Regions from separate parts of the Homo sapiens genome. Here region 2 is linked to region 1. Evidence: promoter capture Hi-C in 16 types of primary human blood cells and fetal thymus (Javierre and others, 2016). All regions are on one chromosome and are shown on one strand. The core of a region is centred on a gene start or on the middle of the fragment in contact, and the rest is flanking DNA. Distances in the headings are between cores, read along the strand shown. Region 1 holds the start of FTX (FTX transcript, XIST regulator). Region 2 overlaps HMGN5 (high mobility group nucleosome binding domain 5).

Region 1 (6,552 bases), core at 1,277-3,776:
TTTCGTAAGATTGTCGAGAGTACCAAATGAGTTACGGCCTATGTAAAAGCACGCAGACCAGAACCTCGAACGTAGTAAGTGCTATTGACGTTTAATCATTATTACAGATAGAGAAATAGGCCCAGCAGCCGGGCGTGGTGGCTCACGCTTGTAATCCCAGCACTTTGGGAGGCCAAGGCGGGCGGATCACATGAGGCCGGGAGTTCGAGACCAGCCTGGCCAACATGGCAAAACCCCGTCTCTACTAAAAACACAAAAATTAGCCGGGCGTGCGCGCACCTGTAACCCCAGCTACTACTTGGGAGGCTGAGATATCAGAATCGCTTGAACCCGGGAGGCGGAGGTTGTAGTGAATTGAGATCGCGCCACCGCACTCCAGCCTGGGCGACGGAGCAAGACTCTGTCTAAAAGTAAATAAATAAATGAGCGAGAGAGAGAAATAGGCCCAGAGAAGGAAAAGGACCACCATGAAATAATAGCTAGGATTACTGGGAAAAGATGTTTTTTTCAGTTTTTAATCCTGTGCTCCTTCTAACTATGTCTGTATCTAAGTGCTAACTTACTAGTTTTAGCGATTAACAGCAAGTCTTCAGAGAGTCATGACAGTACATCTGCCTTTAAAATAGAAACTCTAATCTTCTCCCTTGACAAAACCGTGCTGAAAGTTCTACAGAAGAAAAAATAAAGGAAAGGGTGAAAGCCCAGGTTACCTTCATACCACCACTGCCATTAACTACTTTTCAATCTTTCTCCACGACAGTATGAGTCCCAGGCAGCCATAGGTCCAAATTCCAGGTTTACGGCAAAGAGTAACAAGCATTTGGAAACACATCCAAATCCTCACGCCTATGTTCTCAGGGAAGAAAATCAAGAGCTTTCGGCCAACATTAACATTGGATTCTCACACTACAACCACAGTGTTTTGCTACTCTGATGGGGTGACTGTATTCAGAGCCAAGTACAGCGACCCAAGATCGGAAAGCCAGAGAGCCCTCCGAATGCGTACTGCCCAAATGTGGCCTGTCTCCAAGTGCTCCCTTTTTACGCATTTCCTACGCACCGCCAGCTGCCGCAACCTTTTGCAGAGTCATCATCGCCTCCTCATTTTTGTACCCACTTACCGATAGGCCACTGAGAGGCTAAGATTCTGGGTTAATTTCTAGTGGATCTGGCCACAGCATAGGAGAACTCCAACTCAGGTTGATCCCTTCACTCAGCTAAAAAGGTAGTTCTCTGCAAGGCCTGCTAGCCCAAGATGGCCAAGCAAAGACAGCTTACCTCCCCCCTCGCCATTTTGCAACCTTAATTACCCGAATGCTGAGCGCCTCCCCTCCCCGGCACTCCGTCTGAAATACGCATGCGCGCCGCTTCCTCCTTACCGTTCTCCCCAACCATCCAGATGTTGTCTCAAATATGCATGAGCGCCACCTCTACCTCCCAAACGCTGGTACCAACTCCTAGCAACTTTGCGTTGTTAAATATGCCTGCGAGTCCTTCACTTCCCGACCTTCCAACCCTCCAACCCCGACGCCATTCAAGCCTTGCGCATGCGTGCCTCCCTCTCCCCACCCCCGCCCCACTGGAGCCCGTCCCCTTAACTCAGGTCTTCTCAAATACTGTAAGCTTGAGCGCCGCCCCTCGGCGCCGCGCCTCCTCATCCAGCCTCTCAAATACCCTGCGCACCGCGATAGTCCTCTCTCTTCTTGCTCCCATTTGTATACAGTATGCATGCCTGATGCTATCTGGACGTGTTTCTCGCCACAATTCTGCCCCAGTGCCCAAGGAGAGCCATTACCAGCCTTCCCTAATGCGAGTAGATGCGATAAACTAGGGAAGTTGAATCGGGGAAAGAAGGCGTTGCAGGTGATCAGAGTGAATCCCAGATCTAGATGGAATCGGTCCCAACTCCAAGGGAGGGGGCTAGAGTACCCCAGGATTCACATAAGACCGGTCAACCTGAACAAAGGCAAGGAAAACTTTCACAAACCATCGGATGAACATAATCCTAAGGCCTCGCCCTTTAAATACATCTGCTACAAATGACGAACCACAAATGTTTTAAACAGGGAACATTATGGAAAACACCGATGCTCAGGTGCCTTGACTCTAGTTAGAGGAAAGGAACCCGCATTCCTTTCACAATGGGAAGCAAATGCTCAACATCCTTTTGGAAAACTGGGGCCTGTAACGTATTCCATTTTTTCCTCCCGTGAACTGGAAAAATGCACAAATTAAGGATCTTCCTGGCCCAAGTTCCCTCCGCCGCCCTCCATGTTCTGTTCTTCCCCTACATCGTTCCTTTACCTCCTGGTTGAATTCAGTGTCGTAGCAGGAATTCTTAGAGCTGGCCGTCCCAAGATGGGGTGGAGAGAGCGGCATGAAAGAGAGAGAGAGAGAGAGACACGCCTGAATGGCAGCAGCAGGCCTTAGCGGCAATGGACAGCAGGCACAGGACCAGCTTTGCCTCGAGCCGCAACGCTGATGCCAGAAAAGGACAACCTCTCCAGAATCGCCGCAGTGTGCTTCCAGCGCATGCGCTGCTAACGCCCCTTAACCCCCCCTCCGCGCCCCGCCTCCCCCACGCGCCGCTCTCCAGCCTCTAGGAGTCTAACCCTTAGCGGTCCACCGACCTCCTTCACTTCTTTCCCAGGACGCTATCCCACTCTGCTTCTTCCACCTTTCCCCTCCCCTCGGTCACACTGGCCTCCACCATCATCCCTCCCTCAGCCCATACTTCTTTCGTCAATCCCTCTCCCATTATTCTTAGCCCACCATCTACCTTTATTTCCTCTGCTATCGTTAGTGGTCTACCCTTCAATTCTTCACTTTCCCTGCCAGTCTGCAGCCCTCTTGGGCCTCTTACTCCTCTCCTCCTATGCCTGATGTTGAAATTTGTAAAAATTACCGCAAAAATTTTTTTTTAAATAATTGTAGCCCGGGCGCGGTGGCTCACACCTGTAATCCCAGCACTTTGGGAGGCCGAGGTGGACGGAACCCTTGAGTTCAGGAGTTCGAGACCAGCTCGGGTGACATGGCGAAACCCCGTCTCTACAAATAAATACAAAAATTAGCCGGGCGTGGTGGTGCGCACCTGTACTCCCAGCTATTCAGAAGGCTGAGGTGGAAGAATCACTCGAGCCCAGGAAGTCGAGGCTACAGTGAGCTATGATTGTGCCAGCTATGATGTTGCCAGCCTGGGCAACAGAGTGAGACCCCATCTCAAAAAAAGAAAAAAAATATTTCCACACATCCTCTCCAAAGCAGCTCTCAGGGTGAGCTCAACCAGCCTGTCTTGGGCAAAGAGAACACCTTTTTGATGATGACCCACAGGGAAGATCCAGAGACAGGGAACCAGAACAAAAACTGCAAAAGTGTTCAATCAATTTGGGGGTAAGAGGCAGTAGACCACCAACATGGAAAGCTCTTTTCTTTCTATTCACAACCCTGGTATTGTCTGGACATTAAAAATGAGATTCAATGTCCTTCACTGCTTACTACAAGGCCTGTTCTTGTCTTCTGTAAGAACTCAAATATTAATTTTGAGGGAAATGGCATTATTTACTTAAGAGGCTCTGAAATAGATCCCTCTTTGGGTGTGAACTAGAAAGAATACAAAATAATATTTTGTTTCTCTTTATTATGTTTTACTTTGGTGTCTGGTTCTTATTGCTTTCTAAAAGAGCCAGTTTGGAAATACCAAAAACTGAGACCCGCAAATTCATAAATCCTAAAACTCATAAACTTATACATCACCATCCTCTCAAATTAACTTAAGAATGTTATATCAACATTATTCAGAGAAAAATGGGTTTGCATTTGTTATATAATACGCCCAAAAAATTATACAACAATGTGCATATGAAGAAGAAAAAAGAGAAATAGGCATGCATTAAATAAAAAAGAAATGCCGAAATCTCAGTGGTACAAAGAACCTCTTCTAAATTAAAATAATCATTTATTATTACACAAAAGTTAAAATATAAGAAATTTTACCCCAAATTCTACAACACTATTTTAACAAATGCTCTTATCTCTGTTATTTTTCTGTTTTAATGGTTTTATTAATATATAATTTACATATCATACAGTTAACCAACTTAAAGTGTACAATGCAATGGATTTTAGTATATTCACAGAATTATGCAGCCACCACTACAATCAATTTTAGAATATTTTCATCACCCCAAAAAGAAACTTCATACCCATTAGTATTGTCTTAGTCCATTATGTACCACTGTAACAAAATACTGCAGACTCGGCAATTTATAAAGAACAGAAATTTATTTCCTCACAGTTCTGGAGAATGGGAAGTCCAAGACTGAGGAGCTGGCATCTGACAGTGGCTTTCCTGCTACATCATCCCATGGTGGAAGGGCAAAGAGATAGAGAAAGAGAGAGTGCGCGCAAGAGGGGGCCAGAACTCATCCTTTAATAAGGAACCCACTACTGAAATAACAAACCCACTCCCTCAATAATAGCATTAAGCTATTCATAAGAGTGGTGCCCCCATGACTCAAACACCTCCCTTTAAGCCTCACCTCCCAACACCACCACATGGGGCATCAAATTTCCAACATATGAACTTTGAGAGACATATTCAAACCATAGCAAGCATCTTTGTGTTCTCTTATGATTTTTGTTCAAATATATAATGTTTTGGCTGGGCGTGGTGGCTCATGCCTGTAATCCCAGCACTTTGGGAGGCCAATGCAGGAAGATTGCCTGAGACCACAAGTTCGAAACCAGCCTTGGCAACATAGCAATACCCTGTCTCTATTTAAAAAAAAAAAAAAAAAGAGGTGGGGGCCAAGCACAGTGGCTCGCACCTGTAATCCCAGTACTTTGGGAAGCCAAGGCAGGCAGATCAGTTAAGGTCAGGAGTTCAAGACCAGCCTGGCCAACATGGTGAAACCCCGTCTCTACTAAACATGCAAAAATTAGCTGGGCGTGGTGGCGGGCACCTGTAATCCCAGCTACTCGGGAGGCTGAGGCAGCTGACTCGCTTGAACCTGGGAGGCAGAGGTTATAGTAAGCCGAGATCATGCCACTGCCCTCCAGCCTGGGTGATAGAGTGAAACTCCATCTCAAAAAAAAAAAAAAAGGAAAGAAAGAAAAAGAAAAAATGTATATATAATGTTTTAACATTAACTTTTTTTTTTTTTTGAGACAGTCTTGCTCTGTGGCCCAGGCTGGAGTGCAATGGCACGATCTCGGCTCACTGCAATCTCTGCCTCCCAGGTTCAAGCGATTCTCCTGTCTTAGCCTCCTGAGTAGCTGGGATTACAGGCGCCCGCCACCACGCCCGGCTAATTTTTGTATTCTTAGTAGAGATGGGGTTTCACCATGTTCGTCAGGCTGGTCTCGAACTCCTGACCTCGTGATCCGCCCGCCTCGGCCTCCCAAAATGCTGGGATTACAGGTGGGAGCCCTTGCACCTGGCCTAACGTTAACATTTTTTATGACACTATATTTGTGTTTGAGGCTGTGTTTTTACCATGCACAGATGAATATTCATCAGCAAACAGATTTAGTTCTGTTTCTTCCAAGGAACTTCTACTTCTACCTTCATCTCAGGCAAGGAGCTTGGTCCTAGGCTCAGCCATATGGAAATCACTACACATTACCCCAAAGGTTCAATGCATAAGAGACTCAACTTTTCCCCCACCAACACTATTTACCAATGGCACAGACAAACATCAACATTTTATAGATACAATATTGTGATGTTTTCACTGCTTTTCCATGCCCCTAATTATTAATTATCTTCACTATTTTTAATAAATGGACAACATTGCATTTTTTGAAAGTATTATAAAATTGAAATCAGCACATAATTCTTACAGATTGAGTTACTTACTCTTTCCACGTCTCTTTATTTTGAAAAACTTCCATAATGTACCATGGCCCCTTAAGAAGAGAAATTCAGGAAAAAGGCACGGGCTGGGTGCGGTGGCTCACGCCTGTAATCCCAGCACTTTGGGAGGCCGAGACAGGCAGATCACGAGGTCAGGAGTTTGAGACCAGCCTGGCAACACAGTGAAACCTCATCTCTACTAAAAATACAAAAATTAGCCGGGTATGGTGGCAGGTGCCTGTAATCCCAGCTATGCGGGAAGCTGAGGCAGGAGAATTGCTTGAACTCAGGAGGCAGAGGTTGCAGTGAGCCAAGATCGAGCCACTGCACTCCAGCCTGGGTGACAGAGCAAGACTCCATCTTGAAGAAAAAAAGAAAAAGAGACACAGCTGGTAAATCTTGAACCCTGTAAAATACTTAGAGTCCTAGGCCTACCTATTTGTCTAAACTTCCCAGTTCACAAGCCGTTCCTAAGGAGTGGTAAGGAAGAAATTTGGGAACCTCTGTTGTATCCACTCATTTTAAGCTAACATCTGAGACTTTATTTTTCTCTTTTCCCCCATCCTATACATTTCTTAGGAGACTGGGCTTCTTCTAGAGGATGTGATGATTAATTTTATATGTCAACTTGGCTGGGCCACGATGCCCAGATATTTGGTGAAACATAATTCTAGATGTTTCTGTGAGGGGTGCTTTTG
Region 2 (6,085 bases), core at 2,938-5,437, 6.8 Mb after region 1:
CTACAAAGTGATAGGATTAGATGCTCTCTAATGTTTCTCATAGCTTTAACCTTTTATGATTTCAGGAATTCAATCAATATTCTTATGTATTAAGCAATTAGCAGTAAACTAAATATTGAGATTATATCTATTTCTACATGCCTTTAGCCATAACACCAGAGTATATAAGTCCATACAAAATCAATTGTGTCCATTTAAAATTAACATATGCAAATACATCTTACATATATTATATATATAATTATATATAATCTTATATACTTTGCCAACTGTAAAATATTATCAAATGTTAGTTACTACTTTTATTACAAAGCACAACTTTGGGGTTACTACTGTTTTCACCTTTTGTTTTCCCAGGGAAACAGTATTGTCACTATATGATAGCAAAGGCATGTACATTTAATGGGCCTATCCAACTGAAATTGTTTTGTCTCTACCCAGTGAAAATGTCAAAACACTGTGGACAATCACAAAACAGAACAAATAATCCCCACCCAAGGGGTTTACATGTATCATATGATAGAATATAATATATTACTAACTGAACAAAATATAAGCAAAGTAAAATGATCAGCTGTATGCCATTTCAAAAATTATTTTTGAAAAAAAAAGCAAATTTATTTCAATATTCTACGTTGAATATTTACCCTTGAACTTGATGTTCTTTTAGGCTTCACCTCTGGTGTAACTGGCACAAGCATCTGCTTCAAGTTGTGGGAAAAGAAAAGAAAAGGAAAAAAATCATATTTGAAGAAAGAACGCTAAAAATGAAATCCAACCTCTGAATTAAAATAAATGAGTATTAGGAAAAAAAATACATTTCCTTGGTGTGAAAGTTTTTCTTAAAACTTCAAAAATAAATCGTGTATTGAATATTTTAGGATTCCCTAAATTTTAAAATGACGTTTCACAATACATGGGCTGCTTTTTGAAAAGATTACTTACAGCAGACAACCTGGCAGATCTTCTCTTTGGCTATAAGTTAAAAACAAAAATCTGTTAAGAGAATTATGGATACAAAAAGCTAGAATTATTTTTATTGAGGTCAAAATATTTGGTGTAACAATACATAAATATTGTCATTAAGTAATTGTGAATTTGGTTAGAAAATACAAGAGAAATATAAGTTTTGATTTTTCCGTCCTCTGAACACTTTACATACTAAGGAAAAAGTCCCAAATTAAGCTTAAGCAGCTAGGCTAAATTAACACAGTAGCTAGTAACAAGGAGCACATTTAGAAATGAAAATATAGCCTTTTCTTGCCAAATGACAAAGCAATTATTTTGCTTAAAAGGAAGAAGTTCTCTCCACATCTGAACAAGCACAATAAGGTCTTAAATTCGAAGAAGCTTGCAGTTTTTAATACTTACTATATATACATTTTTTTCACACTCAGTATATTTTTATTGTGCATTAATTAGATTAAAATTAATAATATGCATTGACCAAAATATTAGATTAACAAGGCCATAAAGGTAAACTGAGAGGTTTCTTTAATATAATTGTCGCACAACAATGATTCTCGCTTTGTAGGACATATAGAAGATGGCATACTCTAGGAGTTAGAACAATATATATTTAATGCAATAACAAAAACTATATAGTACTTTAAGAAATGTTTCACATATGTGAACAGTCATTTAGAGCCTCAACTTTCTAAAGTAAGCAACATGTAAGCCTGTAAAGTACACACACCAAATCATAGTCTAACCCACAAAACACCCAAATAAAATATTAGCACATCTCTATTGTCAAGAATATTTCCGTACCATCATTTCTATAAAAAAAAGTGAAAAAGCCTTTTCTTTTATTCTGAATGGCAATTTTAAAAAGTCCTCTCTTCTGAAATTCGGATATATATTTTTGAGAGATCCCACTGGTATACCATATTGGAACTCATATTGTACAAATATACCAACCAGCATCTATTTTTTAGCTGCTTATGTCAAGTTTATAAAACGAGTGGTTTTTCCTAATAGATGCTAAGACTAAAGAAACTCACCTCCTGCCTCATATCACCTTGACCTGCAGCCTACACAGAGGAGAAAACCACACAGAAATAAGGTCATTGATATAAACACATAAATCAGAAAATACTGCCTGCGGATTACAAATTTCAATATAATTGCTTATTACTTTCTCCTGGGTTCCTGCTCAAGTAGACACGTGTTGTTTCTTAGGAACCATGCTACATACTGCTGTTTTACTAATGTGCACCAAGATGCAAGTGCATGCACAAGACATACTTTTACACAATTGATAGTTAATTTCATCCTTTTGTGTAAATTGCATCTCCTAAAAGCAAACCTTTGTAATTTTGAAATCCACCTGCTTTAGATAATGTAAAAGCCAAAAATGTGGGGGTGGGTCAAATGAAGGCGGAGCTTCATGCAATTTCGCTTTCTTGCCTTATGTTTGCCATGCAATTGTACCTATCTTATCCTCTCCACTGATTCTGGACTATTTTCTCCAAGTTTTGCATGCAAGAATTACAGCCCCCACAGTGTTTTCTTGGGGAGACCTCTTTGTTACAAAGTCAATGCTTTATTCTAAGAAACTGGCCGCCGATTTTAAAACTTCCCGCCACTACCTGCTTTAAGGTTGCTGTCAGCTCTGGAAAACAGCAAGACCTACTGCACAAGTATAGAAAAGCACAGTGGCGGGAATCTCAGGAAGGGGGGATGGTGATTAGAAACAGTTGTTTTCCATATCTGAGCAGCCCTTTAGCCTGAGAATTATCAAGCTATTGCACGATTCAGACAGCCACAGAGCACGGGGGAATTTCAGTATTATTCCTATGTTTTAGGAATAAGGAAGGCGGAGTTGTTTATAGGAATAATCCAAAAACAATCATAATGTCTTAGCATAGTGTTATACGGTTTTACCAAGCAATGAAACAGCGTTCGATTTCACTTCTAGGGGACTAAGAAAAAAACGCCGAGCGTGAACTTGTTTCCTGTCTGCGAGGAGCCAGGAATTGTGAAGTGAGGGTTTGCAGAAGACCTGTGGAGCTCGAAAGGCTCAGATCAATTCTGCACTACTAAAGTGAACAAATCCATGCTACCCCAACATCAGCAAGTTTATCCGACGCTGTCTCCTTATAATCTTCCCATCTTTAGCTAAAGAGCTTGGAAAGGTCCAGCTTTCTCACCCCTAAAGTTTCTAATTACAGCGGTGAATCTCTGTTCTCTAGGACAGTTTGAAGTCTGCGCCGCCTAATGGCACAGGATTACCATTGCATAGCCATCTGGCCTGACAAGAAGTGGAGGAGGAGGGAAGGAAAAAAAAAAAAGAAAAAAGAAAACGGGAAGAACAAAGGCAAATACAGGAGAAAGCCATGGCTTTCGTTCCCCAGACGGGACGGTTCCCCGAGAAAAGCCGGTGGCAGAGGAGGAAACTGAAGTATGGTTGGGAGAAGTGTTCTCCAATAGGGTAAGCGGAGGAAGGGGGTTGGGGTAGGAAGCGACAGCCCAGCGCTATGGCTGTTTGTAATTCAGCATGGAGACACCTTTCAAGAGATTCTCTCCTTAAACAGAACACTCCAAAAGTGAACTACCAGTTGCATGCAAGACCATCCTAAACCTTACACCGACTGCTCTTTGCCCTTCTACCCCTTTCCGTTTCATTACATCACAAAATGGAAGAAGCCAAAAAGCTTTAAAAAAAACCAAACAAACAAATAAATTCTTCCTATTAGGAAATAGGTAACTCAGCAGCTCATTCCCCGTCTGTCTTTCCATTTCACTTACCTTTCTTTTGGGCATTGTTGTAGCTCTCTATAGGAGATCTTAGTCAGCAGAAAAAAAGCCGAAGGCAGTCACTGCCTGACTGCTCCAAGAGCAAATGAGTTTTCAATGAACTAACTGCAGCACGACCTGTACTCTCCTCTGGAAAAAAAAAAAATCCCTCGTTATTGGCAACATTAAACACGCCAAGACGCAACCAAACTACGTGAATGGTTAACCGGAGTGGGAGCCACATTGGAGTGACAGGCTCTCAGGCCAATAAGAAGAGGCAGCCGGCTTTGAGGGGCGTGGCCCGCGAACTTGCCCGAAGCCCTCGTTCCCTGTCGGCTCTAACCGCTGGTGTAGTGGCGGAGCACGCGAACTTAGCAAGGGCTAAGCGATCAGGAATAAGAACAGCAGGAAAGCCAGAGCTGACTTGATCAGTTTTTTTTTCTTTTATGTTATAATGACAGGCGAAAGCCACAACAGTTGCTTTCTTCACAGCCTCCAAACCCGCCACCCTTCCCTATTCCTAGCGGGATAAGTGCTTTTAAGACCAGTTGAGTCTGGGCTCCGGTCTTTCCCTGCCACCTTTGGCGGGATGGTGTTGAACCGACAAGAACATTCATTCAGAAAGCGCAAAAGAGTGGAGATGTTTCTCTGGTGTGGGAACATCCTGCCAAAGCAGAACTGTGGTGCTGGCAAGAGGAGGGTGCCAAAATGGCGTGTTTTCCGCAGGTGTAGAGTAGCGACAAAACCGGGAGCTATACCGTTATCCCACTTGGAGGAGGTATACGAAGAATTCAGCGGGACTCCGAGGGAAATGTGTAATAGCAGAGGTCTATCCAAATGAAAAACACTGAGAATAGATTTTTAATCTGAAGGTTGCATTTAGTGAAAGGACTCAAGAAGGTGCTATCCACGAAAGTGTTTAGGACTCAGAACCTAGACTAGCATAAAGCCATTGAGGTACTCGCCTCAGGCACAAAATTTAAGCTTGTGACAAAAACCCAGGAGACTAGGATGAGGCGAGTGAGGTGAGTCACGCAAGTGCAGGGTATGATCCTGTCTTTATTTAAATTTTTGATATTTTGTTCATCATGGACTTTTTTGCAAGAATTTTGATATTTAAAAAGATTGTCTAAAAATATTAAGTATCTTCATTACTGAGTTTCTAGGCGGCCCTTTAAAATTTTTGCCAAAGGAGAATGTCTCCATAGCGTCACTCTAGTCCCAGCCATATTTAGGTGACTTTCGACTGTAAGAGAGGCTTATAGGTGCCTTTCAGTGTCAGTTTCTGAGACCTAAAGTTTTCAGGGTTGAGGTGGAGATTGATGAATAAATTACTTGGGAATAAATATGATTAAAATAGAGGATCTAATTCCCCACCGCCCTTTCTCAGAGGCGCCTTGATGTGGTTGTTGTAAGAGCTACCTGTGTATAAAAGTGCTCCCAAACAACAACCCAAATCCTTATCCTGGAGGGTTAATCAAAAAAGAAATTTAACCTTTTGAACAGTTACTTTAGGAAGAATTCATTTGTGTTTATGTAGGTTAAAAAATTTGGAATAATCAGTTTAAGAGATAAACACTGTATCTGCTACAGAGTGCCAAACCATCCCTTCAAGCAAAAATACAGCCTAACAGAATAACCCATTGTAATTATTATATTTACTATTGCTATATTATTTTTATTTTGTTATATATTTATATCATTATTATTATTATTATTGCCCATTCTTCCCCAGCACTGATAGTATGGAATTACATAGATCAGGTAGAATGAGCCTGCGTGACTGCTGCTCAGTTTCCTTCCCCCAACTTCATACTGCATTCTAATTCAAGTAAGTAAATCAGAAAGATATTTAAATTGCTTCCTTCGTCCACAGTTATTGGGATAATCCCTAGATGTTCCTGATGTCACTTTTTGCCCTTATGGTAAAAGCATTCCTGGGTGAACTTAAATATGTTTCAATCATTTTATTCTCCAACAGTTAGAAGATAAGCATAAAAATTGATTTTAATATAAGGATTGCCTCATAAGGATAAGAAGAAAAATGAAGGGAATGAAAATGTGTCAGCAGTGGAATGCATCCATTCAACAAATTCTTATTTAGCATTATTTTGTGAGTCGGATTTTGTTTTTGTAGACTAGCTTATGAAAATGCGAAACCCTGTAGCATGCAAAGTTGCATTACACAGCTTCTGTCTTTAAGGAATTTTATAATTTTGTAGGATTGAGCAAACAGATGCATACCTATTTACAAATCAAAGCTGATTGTATTATCTGAATGGTGCAATCTAAATTCAATAATAAAACAGGAGGGAAGGATCTTTTAGGACTAAGGTAACTTGGCAAA

Evidence for each region. Contacts are between HindIII fragments. The CHiCAGO score rates a contact against its expected background, and 5 or more counts as called.
Region 2: a fragment that was not itself captured here is called in contact with the fragment with the promoter of FTX in region 1 in 1 of 17 cell types (fetal thymus); the score reaches 10.9 in fetal thymus.

The regions. Positions count from the first base shown.
Region 1 is chrX:74,291,048-74,297,599 of GRCh38, forward strand. It overlaps FTX (FTX transcript, XIST regulator), which reads right to left and starts at 2,527. Exons shown (of 7, transcript NR_028379.1): 1 at 2,305-2,527. LOC124905199 (a long non-coding RNA gene) reads right to left here and starts at 1,549. Exons shown (of 2, transcript XR_007068266.1): 1 at 711-1,549. RefSeq lists enhancers at 1-199, 991-1,781. The HindIII fragment of the contact is 8,135 bases long and covers 1,622-6,552 here.
Region 2 is chrX:81,117,785-81,123,869 of GRCh38, forward strand. HMGN5 (high mobility group nucleosome binding domain 5) reads right to left here. Exons shown (of 7, transcript NM_030763.3): 2 at 3,751-3,888; 3 at 2,004-2,033; 4 at 946-975; 5 at 648-701. The coding sequence starts at 3,765. Among named protein-coding and RNA genes, the nearest start is that of HMGN5, 81 kb to the right of the region's middle. RefSeq lists an enhancer at 4,168-4,397. The HindIII fragment of the contact is 1,066 bases long and covers 3,655-4,720 here.